Regions from separate parts of the Homo sapiens genome. Here all the other regions are linked to region 3. The links are contacts of gene promoters, found by promoter capture Hi-C in blood cells and fetal thymus (Javierre and others, 2016). All regions are on one chromosome and are shown on one strand. The core of a region is centred on a gene start or on the middle of the fragment in contact, and the rest is flanking DNA. Distances in the headings are between cores, read along the strand shown. Region 1 has its middle 36 kb from the start of LINC00475. Region 2 overlaps CENPP (centromere protein P). Region 3 holds the start of IPPK (inositol-pentakisphosphate 2-kinase). Region 4 overlaps IARS1 (isoleucyl-tRNA synthetase 1).

Region 1 (2,700 bases), core at 60-2,559, 490 kb after region 3:
CAGGACAACACACTGCTTGAAGCCTAGAAGGAACAGCTGTATGTACAGGGCCTGAGAGGGGCTGGGCCCTTCCGGCCTCTCAGTGCTGGAGACCCCAGAGCCGAGTTCTTAGCCTTCTTCCTTTTGTCTCCACTCCTTTTCCCTGGTTGGTAAGAAAAGGCCAGAGTCCACAAGTCCTTTGGCTCCTCCTTCAAAATACCATCCCAAATCTGACCATTTCTTCCCTCCTGTAGTTTCCTCCCTGGTCCCTCCTCTCTACCTGGTGCTCAGCAACTTCTTTCTCTACATGGCACCAGACTGATGGTTTAAACAGGTCACGTGTCCCCCACCCTCCAGCATACAGTTCTCCAAGTTGCCCCTCTGCAGCTCTGAGACCTCCCTCTGCCCCCTCACTCCCTCCCACAAGGTTTGCCCCATCCTCTCCTGGTTTGCGCCAACTGGGCCCTCTCTTCTGGACCTCGCAGAAGTAGGTTCTGTTTCCTATTTGAGTGTAAGGTCAGGAAAGCTTGTTGTGATCCATGGATACGAAATGTCCTCCCGCTTCCATAGGGTCAGTTGGCTTATTTATCTATGCACCATGGGGGACAGGGTTTGTCTTTTCCCCGTGTTTCCCAAGAGCAGTGCCTGCACTGGATGCCCCAGGTGCACCCTGGACTAGTGGGCGGAAGAGCCGGCTGTGGGCCCTGCCTCCCACCACCCTGAAGATGAGACCCTTTCTTTTTTCCCTCCCTTCCTTCCTTCCTTCCTTCTTTCCTTTTTTTTGAAGGAGTCTCGCTCTGTTGCCAGGCTGGAGTGTAGTGGCATGATCTTGGCTCACTGGAACCTCCGCCTCCTGGGTTCAAGCGATTCTCCTGCCTCGGCCTCCCGAGTAGCTGGGAGTACAGGTACACGCCACCATGCCCAGCTAATTTTTGTATTTTTAGTAGAGACAGGGCTTCACCATGTTGGCCAGGATGGTCTCAATCTCTTGACCTCGTGATCCGCCTGCCTCAGCCTCCCAAAGTGCTGTGATTACAGGTGTGAGTTACCGTGCCCAGCTGAGACCCTTTCTTTGGGTCTCACTTTTTGGCCCATGATATAGGGGGCTTTCAACTGCATGATCCCACCCTGACAGCATTTCAGGACTCCAGTAACTCCAAGCAACTTTCTGGAGACCCCTGCCTGCTTCCCTAGTGATGTGGGCTGTCTCCACAGGGCCTGGGCATGGGCACTTTCTAAAGATACTTTACCAAAAAGTTGAGAGAAAACCAAAGGCCTAAATGAACAAAAAAGGACGGGGCGCCCAGAGGGGATGTTCTGCTGCAGCTTAGGGTTCACAAGAGCTGCGCTCTGCACAGAGGTTTCAGCTGGCTGTGCTTTGCTAGCAGGCCCAGCGCCTCTCAGGCCCTGTACATACAGCTGTCCCCTCTAGGCTTCAAGCAGTGTGTTGTCCTGGGTGTAGAGGGCAGAGGGTGGGTTCACGTGTTGGTAGATTCAGATCTATGATTGTCCACTCTGAGGGTCAGCTCAGGAGCTTGATGCCTGGAGATTTCCATCTGGTGGGTCTGCAGCGGGACCCTGACTCAGAGAGCAGAGGCGCAGAACGTCCGACCTTGCCACCTGGTGTCTCAGACACACTCATCCCCCAAAGCTAACTCCTCTTTCTTTGTTCTCAGGGCGATTCTGGGGGGCCTCTAGTCTGCTACCTCCCCAGTGCCTGGGTCCTGGTGGGGCTGGCCAGCTGGGGCCTGGACTGCCGGCATCCTGCCTACCCCAGCATCTTCACCAGGGTCACCTACTTCATCAACTGGATTGACAAAATCATGAGGCTCACTCCTCTTTCTGACCCCGCGCTGGCTCCTCACACCTGCTCTCCACCCAAGCCTCTGAGGGCTGCTGGCCTGCCTGGGCCCTGCGCAGCCCTTGTGCTGCCACAGACCTGGCTCCTGCTGCCACTTACCCTCAGGGCCCCATGGCAGACCCTGTGATGACCGCAGAGCCCCTCGACCCCTTCTCTCTGCTCGGCCTAGGTGTCCATGCTTGACCCTCCCTCTCCCTAGCCCACTGTCCCTCTAAATGGTTCCTAATCCTGGCTTTTCTGCCTATCAACTGCCATTCCCCAAACCAAGCTTGGCAACACAAAACCAAACCCAACAAAAGAGTCATCTGCTCCTCCTCCACCCCGCACGGCCCTCCAAGGCCCCTCCTGCTCCTTAGTGCTTGCCCTTTCCATAGGATTCATTGTCTGACTCCCAGGGCAGGAACCTGGGACCTCACACAAAGAATCTCAACTGTGGGCTCCTAGGAGGAAAGCAGGGGTAGGGGGGACACTAGGGGTGCTGAGGGAGCTGAGGCCGCCAGCTGGGAGGGAGTGGGGTCAGTCTGCACTCAACGTTGCTCCTGCCACAGGAAGCACCCAGGCCTTCAGAGGAGCTGAAACTACACCTGGTGTCCACAGTGTCAGGGAGCAAGGGCTTCTCTGAAGTACAGGAACAGCGCTCCTGGGGCGTGGAGGAGGGAGGTTCGACTCCCAGTGGAGACGGAAAAAGGGAAGTGGCTGGTGCACAAAGTAATTGAGCAGGACTGGGGAACAGGATCCCAGCCATGAGAAGAGGGTTCCAGCCTGCAGCTAGAGTGCTTTCAAAACATGAGGGTCTGGGAAAGACTGACAGAAGCAGATGGAGGAGGGTCCTGATGCCAAGCCAAAAGCCGAGGTTTAGG
Region 2 (2,700 bases), core at 77-2,576, 320 kb after region 3:
AACATTTGAGACAGTGGGCTGGAGAAGGCAGACTCACCCTTAATCTGGATGGGCACTATCTAATCAGCTGCCAGTGAATATAGAGCAGGCAGAAACACATGAAAAGGTTAGACTGGCCTAGCCTCCCAGCCTACATTTTTCTCCTGTGGTGGATGCTTCCTGTCCTTGAACACTGAATTCCAAGTTTTTCAGTTTTGGAACTCAGGCTGGCTCTCCTTGCTCCTCAGCCTGCAGACGGCCTATTACGGGACCTTGTGATCATGTGAGTTAATATTTAATAAACTCCCCGTTATATTATATATATATATATATATATATATATATGTATACACACACACACACACACACACACACACACACACACACAGGCTTTAAGCAACAGGCTTGAGAGAAAAGGCCCTGTCTTCTCTCAATGGGACAGATTCACAGAACTATCTTAGTTTTTTTTGGTTTTGGTTTTGTTTTTTCAGATGATGTCTTGCTCTGTCACCCAGAGGAGTGCAGTGGCACAATCTTGGTTCACTGCAACCTCCGCCTCCCCGGTTCAAGCGATTTTCGTGCCTCAGCCTCCCGAGTGGCTGGGGATACAGGCGCCCACCACCACACTCAGCTAATTTTTGTATTTTTAGTATAGACAGGGTTTCTCCATGTTTGCCAGGCTTGTCTCTAACTCCTGACCTCAGGTGATGTGCCCACCTTGGCCTCCCAACATGCTGGGATTGCAGGTATGAGCCACTGTGCATGGCCAGGACTATCTTATATAGATGGTGCAAATAAAGCTTGTGTGGTGCTTAAAAAAAAAAAAAAAAAAGGAAAAGAAAAAGAAAAAGAAATTCTGACTTATGCCACATGGATGAACCTTGACAACATTACACTCAGCGAAATAAACCAGTCAAAAAAGGCAAATACTGGCCAGGCACAGTGGCTCACGCCTGTAATCCCAGCACTTTGGGAGGCCGAGATGGCTAGATCACCTGAGGTCAGGAATTCAAGACCAGCCTGGCCAATATGGCAAAACCCCTTCTCTACTAAAAATATAAAAATTAGCTGGGCATGGTAGCGGGTGCCTGTAATCCCAGCTACTTGGGAGGCTGAGGCAGGAGAATCCCTGGTGAGGTAGAGGTTACAGTGAGCAGAGATCACACCACTGCACGCCTGCCTGGGCGACAGAGCGAGACTCCATCTAAAGAAAAAAGGCAAATACTGTATGATTCTACTTATATGAGGTACTTAGATTAATACTTAGATAGTATTAATCAAAATCACACAGACAAAAAGTAGAATGGTGGATGAGGAGAGGGAGGAAGTGGGAGTTATTGTTTATGGGTACAAAGTTTCTGGTTTTTTTTTTTTTTTTTTGAGATAGTCTCACTCTGTCACCCAGGCTGGAGTGTAGTGGTGCTCTCGGCTCACCACAACCTCCGCCTCCCAGGTTCAAGCGATTCTCCTGCCTCAGCCTCCCAAGTAGCTGGGACTACAGTCACGTGCCACCATGCCCAGCTAGTTTTTGTATTTTTAGTAGAGACAGGGTTTCACCATGCTGGATTTGAACTCCTGACCTCATGATCCACCCGCCTCAGCCTCCCAAAGTGCTGGGATTATAGGCGTGAGCCACCACACCTGGCCAAAGTTTCTGTTTTAAAAGAGGAAAGAGTTATGTTGACAGATAGTGGTGATGGTTGTACAACATAATGAATGTATTTACTATTATTGAAGTGTACTCTTTAACATGGTTGAGTTGGTAGATTTTGTAAGTATTTTGCCACAGTAAAAAAATAGGAAAACAAGTTAAATAATCTAAAAGAAGGCAAGAAAGGGTGTTAGTAGGTGTTAGTTCACACCTACTCATTTTTCAGATGTCAGCTCAAGCTTCAGGAAATGATTTCATGTTCTCTGTGCTAGTCTAATTCCTGATAAACACTTTGGGAGGCTAAGGCAAGAGGACTGCTTGAGCCTAGGAGTTTGAGACCAGCCTGGGCAATAGTGAACAAAAAAACCAAGTAGATTCACTGAAAACAAAGAACATAAAATAATAGCTGAATTAACACAAAGCTGCATAAGCATGTAGTTTATAGGGAACACTGGAGATTATGTGTTAAAAGTCAGTCTAATAACTATTTTAAAAATTATTTAAACATCTGAAAAAAATTGTTTTCCAAAAAGTATGGGCCTACAAAGAGGAGAAATTAGTTCATTCACGCTTAAAGGCCACAGTGACACGATATTTCGTTCTCCATCAAACAAGTGAGCAAAAAAATAAACTCTTAATCATGTGATGAGGGAGTAAGCCATGAAAATAATCTTAAAAGCTATGATGACTCAAGTTTAAACACATACACACAGAAGAAAAGACTGTTCTTTTACAATGAACTTTAAAAAATTCACAATTCCTTTATTCTTCCATTTGCATCTTCATAAAGGATACTGTACTACAGCACATAAGAGTTTTCCATATAGAAAGAAATTTTGTGTGTGGGTGTGGGTGTTGGCTCTCACAGCTGTAAGAATGACTGTAATTTATCTATTTTTCCTAAGCAAAGTCCAAACTTCACTAAACGTAAAACAGATGTCATGGATTTCTTTCATAAAATGTTGGCAGTAACCCATTTCAATTTCAGCTAAAGTAGTCAGGAAACAAAAATAACTCCAAATGTCTCCTTCTCAAGTATAAAGCGAACACAAAGAGAAATTTAGGATAAA
Region 3 (2,700 bases), core at 179-2,678:
GTCACCATGCCCTGCCCCAGCCTCCCTTTTGAGGCCTAAAATGGAGGAAAGAGATGCTCAAAGCCTTCAGCTCATTTTCCTGAGTCACTGGCCTGATTTCACTACAATTCCCAAGGCCTGGCAAGGTGCCCAGCCGTTCTCAAAGTTGGGTCTGCAGGTCCTCTCTTTGTGAACTACATAACTGCAGATGTTCTTCACAATGTGTATGTCAACCAATGCAATATATTGCAGCAGACCGAATGCCGAAGCACATGTGAGAACCTATTAGGTCAGATTTTAAAAAGATTTGCAAAAGTGTAAAACAATACCACTCCTTTATTTTGGTGGTGGGCGTGGAATGTAATGTTTACTTTTTTTTTTTTTTTTTTTTTTGAGATGGAGTCTCACTCTGTCGTCCACGCTGGAGTGCAATGGCGCGATCTTGGCTTACCGCAACCTCCGCCTCCTGGGTTCAAATGATTCTCTTGCCTCAGCCTCCGGAGTAGCTGGGATTACAGGCCTGCGCCACCATACCTGGCTCATTTTTGTATTTTTAGTAGAGACAGGGTTTCACCATGTTGGCCAGGCTGGTCTCAAACTCCTGACCTCAGGTGATACGCCCGCCTCAGCCTCCCAAAGTGCTGGGATTACAGGCGTGAGCTACCGCGCCCGGCTGTTTACTTTTAAACGAAACAACAAAAAACTTTAAAGCATTTTAACTTAGAATGTGGTAACATCGATAGCTGTAACCCACATTAGCAAAAGCTTGGGGCCCTCATTTTTATGAGTATAAAGTGGTCCTGAGACTACGAGTTTGGGAAATGCGGTAGCTCTACGAGGCGGTGCCATTCTTGCCGCCGCATCAGTGAATTTAGGAGAAGGAAGGTCGTTAGCCCTCTGCCTCACCGCCAAGCAGGAGCCTTGCGCTCCAACTGCGTCCCTCGAAGTCTTCAGGCAAAAGCGGGACTGGGGAGTCCAGTCCTGTGGCCCAGCCACATTTCCTCGCGTAGAACGTTGGACAATGTTTTCTACCTCACAGGACCATCCAAATGACTGCGTTAGGTATTCCCATGAAATGTACGATGAGTACACCCTATTCTACAGAAGCAAAAGCTGAGGCTCAGAGACGCCAAGAGGTTTGCTGGGGTCTCGCGACTAAGCGGTCCCAACACCCAGACACCCTGGCTACCCGGGGACTGCCGGTCACTACCGGGCGCCGAAAAGCCGCCGGCTCCTTCCGCCAGCTACACATCCGGCGCCGAGGCCGGAAGCTTCTCTTCCGGCTCCCAAGACCGCGTTCCGGAAATGAGTCGCTCTACCAGTACCTAAGATGGCCGCCGGCCCATCCACCGTCGCGATCGGTGTGAGGAAAGTGTCACGAACCCGGAATTGCCCGACTCCGTCATGGCAGGCGCCGGGGGCGTGGCTTCCGGCGGCCACAGCTTGCTAGTCGCCGCGGCGGGGTCGAGCGGGGGCGGCAGCTGACAGGCGCTCCTCCCCCGACCGCAGCGGCTGGTTCCCAGCGAGGCGGGCGGCCCCCAGCTCGCGTCCCCGAGTCCTAGCCCGCGAGGCGCCAGGGCTGCGCCTGGGCATGGAAGAGGGGAAGATGGACGAGAATGAATGGGGGTACCACGGAGAGGGCAATAAGAGCCTGGTGGTGGCCCACGCGCAGGTGAGCGGTGGACGTGCGGCGCAGGTCCGGTACCTCACTCCGACGGCCGGTATCACCCCGCCCCCATTATCCGTTTCCTCAACAGGGTCGGTTCCACGTCCCCCCAGTACCTTCCTCCTCCCCGGCCGGTCTCCGGAATTCCCCCACCCTCCAGCATCCCCCCCTACCGCTTGGGTTCCTCATCACCCCAGTATCCCCTCTCTACTGGGTCAGTCTCCCATTGCCCCAGATCCTTCTCCTGGCCGGTCTGTCGTCCCCTCAGTATTCCCGTTCCCCGTCAGAGTCAGTTCCACATCCCCCTCCCCGCCCCGTCGGTGCCGCGCTCAGCCTCACGCGGTGCCGCCTCCCGCCTGGATGCCCGCCGGACTGCCAGGCCGCAGTGGGGTGGAGGCTTGGTTGGGACGGAGGGCCCGGCCAGCACTGGAGGAAGAAGCAGAGTGCCCACAGTGCTGTTACTCTCAGCACCAAAAGAGTTCAGCCTCGTGAGACTACGGAATTGCTGTGCTGTTAATAGTAAGGGGATGTTGTCCACAGGTCCTCTTCTCAACCTTTTAGAATTTGAAGGCTTTCACCTGAATTCAACGAGGGTGAAAGTTTTAGAAACTGCAGTAAGATCTCGCAAAGGTGAATCCCAAGAGTGAAGCGTGTGGGTTTCTGTGAGGGCCCAGATCTCTCTGACCTTTTGCTGTCTGGTACAACCACGCAGGAATGTGGCCGGCTGGAACGGGGGAGGGGGGTGAGGGAGGCGAGGATAGGTGTCATGTAGGGAGGAGTTAGAGCATGGGTGTTAAAGGCACAGGAATCTCAGTGTCTACATTTGTGAAGTGGAACTAGTAGTAGAATTCACTTTGTGGGATTGTTGCAAAGACCAGTTACGCAGGAACCCATCAAGTTATGCTTAGCAAGTGATAATTGTCATCCCTTGGACAGATAAATAAAGTGAAAATCAGAGAGGTTAAGGGCATTGCCCGAGTCGAACAGCTTGTCAGGGATGATGTAGGCAGTGGAGTCCTGCCTTGCTTCTGTTGTTCCTATGCTGGGTGCATTGG
Region 4 (2,700 bases), core at 123-2,622, 390 kb after region 3:
GTCAGCCCTCTATAAATTGGAGAGTGACTATGAGATCCTTGAAAGGTGAATATTCAAATAGTTGCTCTGTGTTTGTGTGCATGTGTCTGTATGTGTGTCTTTAGTTTTAAAAAGAAATAAACTTTGTTATCCAAAAGCTTGCATTATTCAAATTTAGTTTTAAGTACTAATACTATACTAAGTACTTTGCAGTCACACATTACAGCATGAATGGCTAGGGCTAAGAAGCCAGTAAACCAGAGGGGAGTGGTAGCTTGATGTGGCTGCAGCCTCATATTTGATTTTAATCTAATTGTGAGTTTGCCTTTCTCCTTTTCTAGATTTCCTGGTGCCTATCTTAAAGGCAAGAAGTACAGGCCCCTGTTTGACTATTTCCTGAAGGTAAGCTTAGGGACCGCTACTGTGGGCGCTCTCCACAATCTGATTATTTGATAGCTGGGGTGTTGTGAGAAGTGGAATTGACATTACTTTTATGAGTGTACCTGAATCCAGAAAGTCTGCTTTAGTACCAACAAAATTAAATTGTTTGTGTAGCTTTCTTGTCTTAGAGGATTTTTTTTTTTTTTTTTAAAAACAGGGTTTCCTCTGTCCCCCAGGCTGGAGTGCAGTGGCACAATCACAGCTCACTGCAACCTCGACCTCTTGGGCTCAAGTGATTCCCCTGCCCCATCCCGAGTAGCTGGGACTACTGGCACACAGCACCACACCGGGCTAAGTTTTTAGTTTTTTGTAGAGACAGAATCTCGCTATGCTGCCCAGGCTGGTCTTGAACTCCTGGAATTGCAAGCATGAGCCACTGCACCTGGCTGGGATTTTTTGTTGTTGTTGTTTTTGAGATGGAGTGCAAATATCGTGCAATAGCGCGATCTTGGCTGACTGCAACCTCTGCCCCCCAGGTTCAAGCAATTCTCCTGCCTCAGCCTCCCGAGCAGCTGGGATTACAGGCATGCTGTAATTTTTGTACTTTTTAGTAGAGATGGGGTTTCACCATCTTGGCCAGGCTGGTTTTGAACTCCTGACCTTGTGAGCCACCGTGCCTGGCCAAGCTGGGATTTTTTATTTGAATATTTTTCTCAAATTGTATGAGGAATCATTTTACATTTGATTGGATTTTTAGGTGTATATTTTTATTGCATGTAGTCTACATATCACCCAGGGTATTTATTGAGGTTTTTGTTTGTTTGTTTGTTTTGACAAAGTTAAGATAGTAATCACAGTAAAACATCATGTGGAAAGGTAAACACAATTTTATTTCAAGGAGGTTAATGAGGCAGGTGTTTTAAATCTAGGCACCACGACAGAGCTCATACATTTAGCACCTTAGTTTCTTCAGAGTCATAAAGTTGTTTTATGTGGTTTTATTTTCTGACAGTGGAGAATCCACAGCTACAGTTGCAAACCCTGCTGTCCCCACTCCCACACTCTCTCACCGAAAGAATAGTGTCAAAGAGGAATTTCTCCGTCCTTATTTAAAGGTCTTGAAATGAGATAATGAGCAGACCTGGCCTTATGTGGAAATAATAATCAACTGGACATATCACTTACGTCCCATCCCAGAAAAAAATGTTCGCTGAACCCTCAGTTGTTTCTGTTCCGTGTGGGGAGAGTCTGGTTGATTAAGGAGACCTCTGTGGTTTGGGCCCTATCCATGGTGTGTCTGTTACCTGCCTTTTCACTTTTGTGCCTCTTGAGTGTTTTCCCACATTTCTCGTTGCCTACTTGATAGCCTTCTTCCTCCTCCCACGTTGCTGCCCAGTGGATTTCCATATGTTCTGCCCTCATCCCATTCCTCCCTACAGGCGTTAGTTATTTACCAGCAATTAGGACGTGCCCTCCCCAGTCGGTATGTGGCAGAGCTGCTTCCTGACCACATCCTCCCACATTACTTTAGACATATCCTTTATTCAGTCAAACTGGCTCTTCCCTTTCCTGCTTCCCTGCCTTTCTTTAATTAAGTTTTCCTACTGTCTTAAAAGTCTTTATTTTTTTCTTATGTTGATATCTGCTGAGTTAACTCACCCTTCAGGTCTGAACTCAGATGTCCTCTGAAAGTTTTCTGAAATGCATCTTTGGTTTCTCCCTTGGAAAAATGTCATTACTTCATTCCATTCTCCTATCATATAGCTTAACATACTTTGTTTTATGTTGTATTTTTTTTATTATCTGAAATCTCTTCCACTGGATCAGTGACTCTCACCTTTCTGAATCACAAAACCTATTGAGAACCCAAAAACTCAACCCCCTGAAAGAATGCACATGGATACACTAGACAGGAACTTTAGGTTAAGTAGAGGTCTGTCTGGAATATGCACTTGGTAGGTATTAAGTTGAATAACACCTACTCATTAAATAAGCTTCTTAAACTACCTGAAACCTTCGGTGACTTTAGGCAAGTACTATAAATCGTTTGACCCAGGACGGAATCATCTGATGTTCACTGAAATATACCTGTTGTGAAATATCGAGGGAAGCTGAGTCAGCGGACACTGCCTATGGAGCAGCACTGCTGCTCCTGGTGGTTGGTATCTACTGACCTGGGTGGAAGCAGCCCAGCCATGGCCTGGGTAGGCCCAAAGTAGACCCTGAGAGACAAGATGCAGTGACTTTGTCTATACTGCTTCTAAGTATAGAACATGTAACTAAGTATACATGTAATTCTAAGGACCCATGTATTCTGTCTTTCTGTTTAAACTATCGAAG

The links. Contacts are between HindIII fragments. The CHiCAGO score rates a contact against its expected background, and 5 or more counts as called.
Region 1: a contact is called between a fragment that was not itself captured here and the fragment with the promoter of IPPK in region 3, in 1 of 17 cell types (megakaryocytes). The highest score is 5.0, in megakaryocytes.
Region 2: a fragment that was not itself captured here is called in contact with the fragment with the promoter of IPPK in region 3 in 1 of 17 cell types (M0 macrophages); the score reaches 5.7 in M0 macrophages.
Region 4: a contact is called between a fragment that was not itself captured here and the fragment with the promoter of IPPK in region 3, in 2 of 17 cell types (megakaryocytes and endothelial precursors). The highest score is 9.3, in megakaryocytes.

The regions. Positions count from the first base shown.
Region 1 is chr9:92,176,430-92,179,129 of GRCh38, reverse strand. It overlaps the pseudogene PRSS47P. Among named protein-coding and RNA genes, the nearest start is that of LINC00475, 36 kb to the right of the region's middle. The HindIII fragment of the contact is 1,603 bases long and covers 508-2,110 here.
Region 2 is chr9:92,350,135-92,352,834 of GRCh38, reverse strand. All of the region lies in intron 4 of CENPP (centromere protein P), which reads right to left. Among named protein-coding and RNA genes, the nearest start is that of CENPP, 26 kb to the right of the region's middle. The HindIII fragment of the contact is 1,090 bases long and covers 782-1,871 here.
Region 3 is chr9:92,668,859-92,671,558 of GRCh38, reverse strand. IPPK (inositol-pentakisphosphate 2-kinase) reads left to right here and starts at 1,428. Exons shown (of 13, transcript NM_022755.6): 1 at 1,428-1,651. The coding sequence starts at 1,571. It overlaps LOC107987095 (a long non-coding RNA gene), which reads right to left and starts at 1,197. Exons shown (of 2, transcript XR_001746837.2): 1 at 886-1,197. RefSeq lists enhancers at 1-152, 907-956, 967-1,416, 2,157-2,326 and a silencer at 1,457-1,636. The HindIII fragment of the contact is 1,551 bases long and covers 1,253-2,700 here.
Region 4 is chr9:92,275,544-92,278,243 of GRCh38, reverse strand. It overlaps IARS1 (isoleucyl-tRNA synthetase 1), which reads left to right. Exons shown (of 34, transcript NM_002161.6): 8 at 1-45; 9 at 321-381. Among named protein-coding and RNA genes, the nearest start is that of MIR3651, 16 kb to the left of the region's middle. The HindIII fragment of the contact is 1,968 bases long and covers 389-2,356 here.